3 separate regions of the Homo sapiens genome follow, and all the other regions are linked to region 1. Evidence: promoter capture Hi-C in human tissues and cell types (Jung and others, 2019). All regions are on one chromosome and are shown on one strand. The core of a region is centred on a gene start or on the middle of the fragment in contact, and the rest is flanking DNA. Distances in the headings are between cores, read along the strand shown.

What was found. Contacts are between HindIII fragments. The study calls those that stand out against the background at their distance.
Region 2: a contact is called between a fragment that was not itself captured here and the fragment with the promoter of ALDH1B1 in region 1, in 2 of the 25 tissues and cell types used here (lymphoblastoid cells and mesendoderm cells).
Region 3: a fragment that was not itself captured here is called in contact with the fragment with the promoter of ALDH1B1 in region 1 in 1 of the 25 tissues and cell types used here (stomach).

What each region holds. Positions count from the first base shown.
Region 1 is chr9:38,390,775-38,394,974 of GRCh38, forward strand. ALDH1B1 (aldehyde dehydrogenase 1 family member B1) reads left to right here and starts at 1,928. Exons shown (of 2, transcript NM_000692.5): 1 at 1,928-2,033. RefSeq lists a silencer at 1,695-2,014 and enhancers at 2,225-2,274, 2,315-2,404. The HindIII fragment of the contact is 12,047 bases long and covers 1-4,200 here.
Region 2 is chr9:38,159,379-38,163,578 of GRCh38, forward strand. No RefSeq gene overlaps it. Among named protein-coding and RNA genes, the nearest start is that of SHB, 92 kb to the left of the region's middle. The HindIII fragment of the contact is 3,402 bases long and covers 807-4,200 here.
Region 3 is chr9:38,183,336-38,187,535 of GRCh38, forward strand. No RefSeq gene overlaps it. Among named protein-coding and RNA genes, the nearest start is that of SHB, 120 kb to the left of the region's middle. The HindIII fragment of the contact is 5,311 bases long and covers 1-4,200 here.

The DNA of each region.
Region 1 (4,200 bases), core at 678-3,177:
GAGATTTGGACGGCACAGCCTTGTCTTTCAAGTTCTAAAGGGTGAACATCCCAGTTCCTTCAGCTGCTCCTCAAGGGGCACAGCCTCCAACCTTGCCGCATGGGGGTCACTTCCTGTCTGCAGCTGGCCTCTCAGACCTGCCACAGTTTCCAATGCACTCTAACACGAGGACTGATACTCATTTTGCCATAAACTCACTCCCTCTATCAATGAGGCCTCTTAAGGATTGGTCAGTTAATCATTAAGTCAATCAGTCCTGGAGTGCTATGCCAAGTGCCCAAGGGGAGCTAGGCTGTCCACGTGCTGTGGGGGAGGCAGGAGGGCCTTGGCAAGGGGCTCATGCCGTTGCTGGAGAAACCCGAGGAAAGCATGGGCATCAAGGTGATAAGATGCCAATCATAGTGCCTTCATGGATGGCTAACTTTTGCAGCAAGGGCTGTGAACATGCTAAGGATGATATGGTAGCAAAAGATTCCATAGAGATGTAGCTTAAGGAAAGAACTAAGTGAATTAGGTCCAAGCAGTCGCATGTGAGCACCCTAGATCAGTGGAGAGGCAGGGATTTAATACAAGGAACTGGGTGCTTACAGACCTGCTGCAAGTGCCGGAGGCAGAAGCAAGCCTTAGCCAGACCAGGACCAACTCTCAGGACAATATGGACGTGGCCCACCAGCCTCGTGCCTGTCTGAGGCTACTTCAGACACCCTCCTGCAGCCTCCATTCAAAGAGCAGGAAGCCAGGTCAAGGAGCGGCTACAGCCACAGCGGCCGGTCCACAGCCAGAAAGCTGGAGAAGGGACAAGGAATGCTGCCGCAGAACATCTCCCATTTCTGCTATCCTGCTAGTGCCACCCTACAGGGGCAGGACAATACCCTCCAATGCGTGCCCGCCTTCCACATCCGGCAGAGTACTACTAATTGGCAGCACCTAGTCCACATCCAGAACTCTAACTGCAAATGAGGCTGGGAAACATGGCGGTTAGCTTTGGGACCTCCCTAGCCAGAAGGAAGGTGCAGCGAGGGTGGAGCGAGTGAGATGCATGTTCAGTGGTCCATCTTGGCAACCTTTATAGCAACAAAATGGAGACAATTAAATGTCCAACAGTTTACCCCTACAACAGAATTCTATGCCACCTTGGAGAGGATGATGTCATCTGTAATTAGTGATAGGAGAAAACTTCAAAATACAGCGCTAAGTTTTTAAATTTTTTTTAAAGCAGCACAACAGAGGTTACTATATGATTTTATTTTTATTAAAATAATTTTGAAAGATGCAGAGGAAACAATACTAGCAGGACGAACACCGTAATAATGGCTACCGTAGGTGAAGAGATTACAGGTGATATTTTTCTTCTTTTTTCATCCTTTCCTGTGTTTTCCAAGCTTTCTACACTGTGCATACATTCTTTTTGTCCTTAGGACAAAAATGTACTTTGAAAAATGCCCAAATATAAAATCTTCTTGAAGGAACTGAAGAAAGGAGCAGTGAAAGTGGAGGACAGAAATTAGTGAATCCTGGACAAAAAAAGTGAGGGAGAGGCGAGGCAGAGAAGGGGTTAAGGGGAGTCTCAAGGATGGCAGTCGATTAAGCAGCGTCTTGCAGCGGGGAGAAATGCAAAGTGTAGTTGGGGTTCGGTCTCCGAAAACTTTGCTGTGTGACCTGGGGAAGCCCCTGCCCCTCTCTGGGTATCTCTGTTTCCGCTCCCAAACCAGTGCCTTAGGAGCCTAGATCTGAGCAACGTGGACACTGGGCTTGCGGAGACCCGAGGGAGGGAGCGCTGAAGCGGTGCGGGCTGCCGGGGGTAGAGGGGCGGGGACCGGGAAAGACCGGGCGGGGCGAGGGAGGAGCGGCCTTGGCCGGCGACAGGACGTAGGCAGCGCCCCAGGCGCAGGCGGAGCCTCATTGGCCGCTGAGCCCCGGGCTGCGCGGAGGCGGGACCTGCGGCCAGCCCTGGGCGGCCATGTGGACAGAGCTGGGAGGGCCGGAACCAGAACCCAAGCGTGATCCTGAACCGGAGCCCGAGCCTGCTGCAGGTAACTAACGCTGGTCTCCCCTCGGCTCCCTCGGGAAGCCGCAGCTCCTGGCTCCGCGTGGGGGCTTTCCTCTCTGGGCCGCGGCGTCCGCATCTGGGGGCTGGCCTTTCCGCCGTTGCACTGTAGGACTCTCTCCACGTCCCCTAATCCCATCCCCCGCCTCTGGGTGACGCTACAGGAGCCCCGAGGACACAGACGCCCCCAGACCTTACCACGTTAGCTCGACCTCAACACTCCTGCCCACTCGGCCCACTTCAACAGAGGGCCCCTGACCATAGCCCAGAGGCTTGGACAAGCCCAAAGGTTGCGCCCTTTCCCCCGCAGAAGGGGTGAGGTGGGCGCCGCTGCAGTTCCCGCGGATAGAGAAGGTCCGGTCCTTCCCGCTGTGGGTGAACTGTAAAAAATTGCCTGTATTCAGGAGGATATGCAAAGCTAGGTTTGTGGAAGTCTGGGGTGAGGCTCCTATACTTTCTTGCTGTGTGTCCTCGGTGAGTCCCTGAACCTCTCTGATGCCCAGCCTTCTTCCAGAATGGGGGTCATCATCAACCCTGACCACCCAGGGACTGCAGAGAGGCTTGGCAAATTTCCCGTGAGAAGACAGCCTGCAAACTGTAAAGCATGATGCTCTGTGAGCTGTGATCTTCCTATCAGCAAGTGGAGGCCCCAGCAAGAACCCCATATAGGCCCCAAGAGTAGGAACGGCCTTGGTGTGGCTGCAAAGGTTTGCCAGCCTTGGCCTATGACCACCTCTCCTGACTGCTTCACCCCTCCAATCCTTACCCCATGGGTTGGTGACTCCCCTTTCCCCTACCTCCTTTTGGTCTCCTCACCCTCAGAGCCAGGCCTGTTGGTGGCAAGGGGGCTGTGTCCCAGCATATGGCAAAGTCCTGAGCTAAATGGAACCCTGGGCACCCCTGGCAGATCTGCTGACTCAGCTTCCCCCTGTGGGATATGATGAGGTTTCTCTTCAAATAATCTGATCAATCTTTTATTCTTTAATTCTTAGTATCCCCCCCTTTTTTTTTTTCATTTTTCTCCTTTTTGCCTTTGTTAGATGCCCAGGCATGCCACAGTACCAAGCGTTATCAGTACCAGCTCACATTCCTTTGCTTATTTGGAAAGAAGACTAACTTTCTAGCTCATTACAGACACCCTTTCCCCTTTCTCTCCACTTTCTTTTACGTGCCCACTCTATCTAAAATAAATCAAATGTTTAGCCAACCGGGATTAGTTTAGATTGTACGACCTGACCCCAGCCAATGGGGAAAGGGTACAGGGGCAGGACTTGCATCAGGAATAAAGGCTCTCGTGCCCCTTTGTTCAGGTGTGCTCTCATGGCAACTGGCCAAGGAGGCATCCCTCTGCGCAGAAGTAAAATTGCTTTGCTAAGAATCCTGTGTTCGAGTGTTCAATTTCCTTAGGATTTTGAGCATTATTCCTAACACCCGCAAGGGGAAGGGAAACTTTCTTGGTCAGCATTGATTATTATTATTTTTTTTAGATACAGTCTTGTTCTGTTACCCAGGCTGGAGTGCAGTGGCACAATCATGGCTCACTGCAGCCTCAACCTCCTGGGCTCAGGTGATTGCCCCCACCTCAGCCTCCCAAGCAGCTAGAACTACAGGCATGCACCACTATGCTCGGCAAATTTATTTTTGTTTTTTTGTAGAGACACGGTTCTTGCTATGTGCTCAGGCTGGTCTCAAACTCCTGGCCTCAAGCAGTCCTTCCACTTCGGCCTACCAAAGCGTTACCAGCGTAAGCCACCACGCCCATCACATTGATTTTTATGGGGCCGGGGACCTACATGGAGCCTTGCTTTCCTGATTGAGTTTTTTGTTCCTCTCCCTGCCCAGGGGTGGAGGGTGAGAGGCTGGGGGTGAAGGGACAGGCAGGTGCAATTCCATTTTACCGCTGGGCGGAGCAAGACTCATGAGACATCAAAGGCAGAGAGATTCAAATTCTGACTGAAGAATAACTGCTTCAACTAATCTGGGAACACTACACTCTGTTTAATTTTCATTTAATATGTATTATATGCCGTTTAAGTTTTATAACAGTAGTTGTTTTAACGAAGTCTACACTCTTCAGAGTTGTAGCTTTTCTTCTCAGCTGCCTCCTGACTTGCTGCACCTCTGGGAAAGCTGAAAAGGGATGCTGAGACCTG
Region 2 (4,200 bases), core at 1,258-3,757, 230 kb before region 1:
GAAAAGGCCTGGCCTGACATGGGCCAGGTGCACCTCCTGGAGTGTGGCCCTTGGGAGGACACTTCCACAGCAGGGTGTGGCCACTCAGGCTGCCTGGTCGTCCACACAATGGCTGCTGTCTACTGGGGGCTTTCTCTTCCAGACTCTATGCTAGATGCTTTACAAGTATTATTTTATTTCATTCTCACAATAATCCTATGAGGCAGATACCTGATCCATCCCCATTTAACAAATGAGGAAACTAAGCAGAGAGAAGTTAAGCTGCTTCTTAAAAGGCCCAAAGTCCCCCAGCTGGTGACAGCAGGACCATCAAGCTCCTAACTCATCTTTTCCATCAAGGCACCTGGGCCACTCGATAACACCAGAATGAAGGCTTTGAGTAATCACCTGTTCCCTACTCTCCCATTGTACAAATGGGAAAACTGAGGTGAGGGAGCTTGATCAAGGTCACTCGGTAAGCTAGACGTGGAACTGGAAGCTGGTCCAGATGTCCAGGTCAAGGCTCTCCTGACTCCTCTCAAGGGTGGCTGTGCCTGGGGATGCAGCAAACAGGTGGGATACCTGGACATGGTGCTGGCCAGAGTCCAACCCAGCACCTCCATCCTCACCCAGACCTCAGCCACCAGTACATTTGTGGGCAGAGCCCACAGGATCCTCCTGAAAACACCATTTCTTGGTCACAAGCTATTTTATGATTGAATTTTTCAAGATGTCTATTAGGAAATGTTTTATATATATATAGAACAATATTTGTAATGCATATATTCATTGCAAAACATGATAGTAAAATTAGCACCCATGAGCTCACCATCCACTTTTGGAACTAGAACTTTCCTGGTACTCTTGCATGTGTCTGGGTACCTCTTTCTTATTCTAGCCCTCACCTCCCCTACAAATGACCACAACCCAGGCTTTGGTGTTTATGATTTCCTGGCTGTTTTGTGATAGTTTTAGCACATATATTCATATTCCAAAGCCATATATTATTTACTTTTATTTGCATTTGAACTTTATAAAAAAATCATACTGTTTGATATTACAATAAAATATTCACAGTCTTCTGTAAATTACTTTTTTTCACCTAACGTTGTTTCTAAAATTCATCCATGTTGATGCCTGTAGCTTAGTTCATTCATTTTCCCTGCTGTGTAATATCTCACTGTGTAAAACACCACGTATTATCTATTCTTTTGCTATTAGGCATTTGGTTTGCTTCTAGTATTTTGCTATCATGAAACGCTACTATGAACATTCTTGGTCATGCCTCCCAGGGCGCATGGAAGAGATTCTCAAAGACATACCTAGGAGTGGGGTTGCTGGATCATATGACGTGTGCGTATCGAACCTTACAAGTTAAAGCCAGATCAGGAAGGGCTCCCACCTTCATTGTGTGGTTCCCTGGCTCTTCCACCTTGTGATCTCTCTCTAGCGCCCCCTGTTGGCAGAGGCTAAGAGATCGTCAGCAGGCCAAGCAGAATATTAGTGTCCCAGCTGTCATCATAAAAGGCAAATTTAGAGGGGATAGGGTTAGAGATGAGAGCCATAGCACCTAATTTAGAAATATGTGATCACCCCACCAGTGAGTAAAAAAAACTGGGCCAATGTGGCCTGAAGGTCGCCAGCTTAAAACCTCTGCAATGTGGCCTGATTTCTTACTGATCTCCACTTTGTACCCTCTGCTCTTGCCACAGGGAATGTCTCCTCCTTCCCTAAATGTGGTGCTCTTCCACGCCCATTTATCCTTTTCTCTCAATCTCAATTTTCTTTCCCACCTGGCACACTTTGCTCCCTGTTCAAGTCCTTCCTGTTGCTGAAACCCCATTTCAAATGCTGCTTCCTTCGTCATTTTTTTCTGATCTCTCCAGCTGGAGGTAATAAAGATATCCTTCTCTTGAGTTCCCCAGCTCCATATCTACCCTCTCTCTGGGCAACAAGCAGTGTTCACTTAGCATCACTGTTGTTTGGTCTATGGCTCATCTCCTCAATCAGAATTTTATTTTAAGAAAAGCAATGCAAGTAAGGGCATAGAGGAAATAATCACTCATATCACATCGCTGACACTGATACAACTTTTAATATATCCCTTTCCAGTTTCCCTGTGCACATACATTGGTATATGTAGTGCACATGTAATGTTGTATCTAATTTTTTAAAATATAAATGGGATCTCTCTGTGACACCCATGCTGGAGTGCAGTGGCAGGATTATGGCTCCCTGCAGCCCAATCGCCTGAGTTGAAGTGATCCTCCTGCCTCAGTCTCCTGATTAGCTGAGACTACAGGCATGCACTACCATGCCCAGCTTTTTTTTTTCCCCCCATTATTTTGTAGAGAGGAGTTCTTGCTATATTGCTTAGGCTGGTCTTGAACTCCTGGCCTCAAGCAATCCTCCTGCCTTGGCCTCCCTAAATGCTGGTATTACAAGTATGAGCTACTGTGCCCAGCCTCCCAGCCTGTTTTTCTTTTTCTCCCTTTATTAGGTCAAACTATTTTTTTCCTATGTTGCTTCATAACATCACAATTGTTAATGGTTATCCACTCTTCCATTGTATGTTAGTAATAGTTATAAGTGACAGAAACTCAACCTAAAAGAGCTTAGGCAAAAGGGATCTTTGTGCAGAGGCTGCTGGGGCATCTTGCAGAAACCAAGGTTAGAAATGTTGGGCTGCGGGGACCTGGAACCTGGGTGCAGATGCCTGAGGCACTGGTGCTTGCCTTGGCTTCATATTTTCCCCTCTTCTTCAGCAGACTGGCTTCCTCTGCTTTTCCTCTCCATGTGGCAGAAAATACCCACTGACCATACCCAAGCTTTACATGTGACAACACAGCCACCCAAACAGAGACTAACCCTATTTTTCAGGAGCTGGCTCCTCCTGTGGAGCAAGGGGGCAGGGTCAGATTCCACTAATGTGGTGATCTTTAAAGGACCAGGTAGCCTGTGTAGGAAGGGGATCCTGGGTTTTAGACTGCTTCCAAATAACTGCTACTGTAGTCATCTCGTGTATTAGCACATAAACCTCTCCTTAACTTGAATTATTTTCTTTGGACCAATTCTTGGAAGGGGGATGACTGGGTCATAAAGTTGGAACATTTTTGTGATGTTTGATATTATTGCCAAATTGATTTCAAGTAGTTATTCAACTTCACTCCCACCCGACAGCATTGTGCAAGAGAGCCTTTCGTTGTGCCATTGAGAGCACGGGGCATTATGGCTTGAAATAGATTTTTTTTATTATTTTAATAATCGTAAAAAGATATCTCGTAATTTTTATTAGCATTTTTCTGGTTACTAGTAAGGCTGAAGACTTTCTCATATATTTGTTTTATTGGAGTACGTTCCCTTTTGTGAATTGTCTTTTCCTGGCTTTGCCCAGTTATCGAGTGAACTGTTAATCCTGTTCAGATTTAATTGCCCCTTCCTTTTGTGTGTGCATTGCACTTTCTCTATCTTCCTTTCAGGGTATGAATAGTGGCCTATCTTGTATTGTAGTTATTTGTGTCTGTGTCTGATCTTTCTTACTGGACTGTGAGCTCCTGGTGGGCAGAGCCAGGCCTGGGCTCCAGCCTAGCATGGAGCCTTGTTCTAGTAAAGTGCTCAGTGATGGTTAATTGGGTAAAATAAGCATATGGTTTCAGTCTGCATGATGCCGAAGTGAGTGTTCAGCCTGAGGGGTGCTGCATATAGGCTGCGAGGATGTAAGAGCCTGGACCTCATTCATTCAGTCATTCAGCAAATAGTAACTGAAGATCTATTGTGTGCTGGGGTCTAGGAGGGCATCGATGAACAAGCCTCCCTGGAGCTTACAGGACAGTGGAGGTGGGAGAATTCAACAACTATTGCACAGCTACAGACAAATCCTACTTATCCCAAAGAGTTCCGGAGAGGTCTATGAATTCTGATGGAGAGGAGAACAAATCTAACATTGTCTAGGGAAGTCATTGGCAAACCTTTTCTGTAAAAGGCTAAATAGTAAGTATTTTAGGCCTTGTGGGCCACATACAGACTATGTCACATAGCCTTCCTTGTGGCTTTCTTTCCTTTTTTTAAAAAAAAATAGTTCTTTAAAAATATCTTTAAACTTCCTAGCTAAGGAGCTATGCAAAAACAGCTGAGGGCCTGATTGGATCTGTAGGCTGTAGTTTGCCAACCCTTGTCTAGCCCCTAGAGTCATAGAACATCAGGGCTGGAAGGGTCAACTCC
Region 3 (4,200 bases), core at 609-3,108, 210 kb before region 1:
ACGGAGAGCAAGCAAAGGCACTTATTTGCATCCTCTGCACATTTGTGAAGGAGCTTCTGTGGGGTTCTGTCTGAGCTCTAAATTCTTCCTGGAAGTTTTGGATAAGGAAACATTCTTGACATCCTTGCACTTGGACACAGTACTGCTGATGCTGTAACTGAAGTTTTAAACTGGTAATAGGTTGGCCTGGACTTTTTGTTAATTGAAAGTGACCACAAATCCATAAGATTTGTTCAAATGTCATTATGGGTCAGGAAGAAGAGATTTGGAAGAATTTGTCTGAAGATAAGCAATTGGACAAAAAACCCCACAAAACCATCTTATGTTTACGCCCTGCTGACTTCAGACTGTTCAATACAATGATTACACATTTAAGAACATAGAGGCATACATCCCATATAAATTTTAGTGTTAGTATTCAATTCAGTAGTATATTAAAAGAATACTACATTATGACCAAGTCAGCTTTACTACAGGAATGTAAAGGTGGCTCTTTATGAACAAGTGCATTAATGCAGTTTGTCACAGCAAGAGGTCAAAAGAAAATTTTTGGCAGTAGTTTGGAAACCTGTTCACACAAGACATTTTTATTTCCTTAGCATGGGTGCCACACAGAAACCAATAGAACAAACGCCATACTTGTTTGGGATGGCTATTTATGCTGCTTTGATAGACTTATCCTTAGAGAAACTATCTTGTTTGTTTGTGTTGCTAAAAGGAATACCCAAAGCTGGGTAATTTATAAAGAAAGATTTATTTGGCTTATGGTTCTACAGGCTGTACAAGAAGCTTATCTGCTTCTGGTAAGGGCCTCAAGCTGCTTCCCCTCATGGCAGAAGGAGAAGGGGAGCCTGAGTGTACAGAGATCACATGGCCAGAGAGGAAGCAAGACAGAGGGGAGGGAGGTGCCAGGCTCTCTTTAACAACCAGTTCTGGTAGGGACTGGTAGAGTGAAAATTCACTATTGCAAGAACTTCATCAAGCCATTCATGAAGGATCCACCCCTATGACCTAAGCACCTCCCATTGGGACCCACCTCCAACATTGGGGATCAAATTTCAACATGAGGTTTGGCAGGAATTACACAAAAATGATGCTGGGTGCTCTCCATGTGCTCTATCAGGAAGTGCACAATGCCAACCCATCACACTATTGTTGACTTAATTTTAATCTTCTCCTCCAACTTTCTCCACTGTGAAGGCACCATTTTCATTATGCCAGTTTCAGAGCATGTCCCCACAAATTAAATCATAAAATTAAATCATAATTTAATCCCTTTTGGAGGGAGTAAGACATTTAGGATTTAATTTTGTGCTAAAGAATAATAATACAAAAATAGCTATCATTTAATGACCATTTATTATGTGCAAGGCACTGTGCTATGCACTTTATGCATCTTAGTTGAATGCTCAAACCCTTGAATTATGTACCATTATTATTCCCTGTTACAGATGAAGAAAATGAGCCAACTGCAGTGATGGATTTGAAGCAGGATAGATTATATGCTACCTATTCAGTCTTCTTGAGTACTATTTTTTCCCCCATTTAGTAAAAAAAAAAAAAAAAAGAAAAGAAACTGTAAAAGAAATTAGCCAAGGAGGCTGGATGCAGTGGCTCATGCCTATAATCCCAGTACTGTGGGAGGCCGAGGTGGGTGGATTACCTGAGGTTAGACATTGGAGACCAGTCTGGCCAACATGGCAAAACTCCTCCTCTACTAAAAAAAAATACAAAAATTAGCCGAGTGCGGTGGCTCATGCCTGTAATCCCAGCACTTTGGGAGGCCGAGGTGGGCAGATCACCTGAGGTCAGGAGTTAGAGACCAGCCTGACCAACATGGAGAAACCCCATCTCTACTAAGAATACAAAATTAGCTGGGCGTGGTGGCACATGCCTGTAATCCCAGCTACTAGGGAGGCTGAGGCAGGAGAATCACTTGAACCTGGGAGGTGGAGGTTGCAGTGAGCCAAGATTGTGCCGTTGCACTACAGCCTGGGCAACGAGAGTGAAACTCCGTCTAAAAAAAAAAAAAAAAAAAAAAAATTAGCAGGTCATGGTGGCACATGCCTGTAATCCCAGCTACTTGGGAGGCTGAGTATCACTTGAGTCCGGGAGGCGGAGGTTGCAGTGAGCTGAGATGGTGCCATTGCACTCCAGCCCTGGGCGACAGAGCAAGACTCCATCTCAAAAATAAATAAATAAATAAAAAAGAAATTAGCCAATGAAGAGTTAAAAACACCAAACAGAAGTGGTTTAAGTTTTTCCTTGCAGCTCAAGTGATTCTGTTTGTGACAACTAAAGACCCAGAGGTTCCATTTGATGTGTTAGTAGATAATACACCTTAAAATCTGCAACCATTTAAAAATTGGGCTAAAGACATTTAAAGCCACTAAAGTTGTCAAAAATAAACCCCACAAAACCTCATTATTTCTACCTATGTTAGGTCAGCTAGTGAAAGGAAAATGAAAGGTAATGGCTAAGAATTAGCTTTCCAAATGGCTCAGTCAAAGCCATTTGGAAATTTGCCAGTCCAAGGACCAACCCAAAAGAAACCTCAAATATAATCTCTTTGTACAAAGAAAAGAGACACCACAGGCATTATTAAAATACGAGAATTGGTGGAACCACTTCGATACTGGTCAAAAATCATGAGAATAAAATATTTTCAAATATCCTAGAGAAAGAAAGACATGTATTAATTATAAATTAAACACTATCAATCTTTGTTTCGATTCTTAATGAGTGTTTTTATCTGAGTTCGTTTTTATTAAATTTCCCTTGGGAGAGGAATGGTGGATTTACAGATCTTTTACTAGGGTCCACTTATTATGGGCGCTTTGCTAAGGCCATAAATTTTGCAGTTGAATGACAATAGCGAGGAGGGAGTAGAGCAAGCAGTGGATTGAAGCTGGGAAGGAGGGCAGGATTAAAGGTGGCTTGCACAGAAAACAGTTTTTACATTTTGATATAGCCCCAAATGACCTGGGTTAAAAGTACCACATTAACATGTCCTTTGAATAAAAATAGCCACATCAAAATGGACAGCTTCACTCAGATGTCTATCATAACACTCACTCTGGTTCAAAAAATTTATGATTCATAGGCTTAACAATAAACACACAGCTTTAGCTCCTTCTGAAGACCTGAAAGGTCATGGACTGGAATCCTGAGTTGTGAGGCCAGTTTCCTGAACCAAGATTCAGAGCTAGCCAGTGAACCTAGCAGATGGGCCAGCGTTCAATTTCCACTGAAGTCTGGCGTTCTCAATTCCTGTAACCGCCCAAGGGGTTCACCTTGCCTGCTGCCTACACAGACTCGATTCATCAAGACAGGGGAATTGCAATAGAGAAAGAGGAATTCGTGCAGAGTCAGCTGTGCATTAAACCAGAGTTTTATTATTACTCAAATCAGTCTCCCCAAGCAGAGTTTTTAAGGATAACTTGGTGGGTAGGGGGAAGCCAGTGGAGCCAGGAGTGCTGATTGGTCAGAGATGAAATCATAGGGAGTTGAAACAACCCTTTCCCAAAGCACACCTCCTTCTTGCCTGGGGACTAGACTGCCTTTGTAGGACTAACATTAGCCACAAGATTAGAGATTATGGTTTAGGAGTCATGCAATTGGAGGCTACAAGATTCTGACCCTCCCTAAACTGCTCCTAAGATCAATGCTTGAGATGCTTTGCAAATGCTGCACTTAATGGATCAGGGGGCACCACCTAGATCAATAAACTGGCTTATTTGATCCTGTGGCCCCCACCCAGGAACTGACTCAGTGCAAGAAGCCAGCTTTGACTCCCTGTGATTTCATCTCTGACCAATCAGCACTCCTGGCTCACTGGCATCCTCCAGCCTACCAAATTGTCCTTAAAAACTCTGCTCCCTGAATGCTCGGGAGACTGATTTGAGTAATAATAAAACTCTGATCTCTCACACAGCTGGCTCTGCATGAATTACTCTTTCTCTGTTGCAATTCCCGACTTGATAAAGATAAATCAGCTCTGTCTAGGCAGCGGGCAAGGTGAACCCACTGGGTAGTTACAATTGGGCCCCTGACAACCTTAGAGCCACAGCTGCTATACCAGCCCAGACTTTTACACTTGAGAGAAATTAACTTCTCTTTTTTACTGATACGTAGTCATTGTACATATTTATGGAGTACATGTGATATTTTGAAACATGCATCCACTGTGTAGTGATCAAA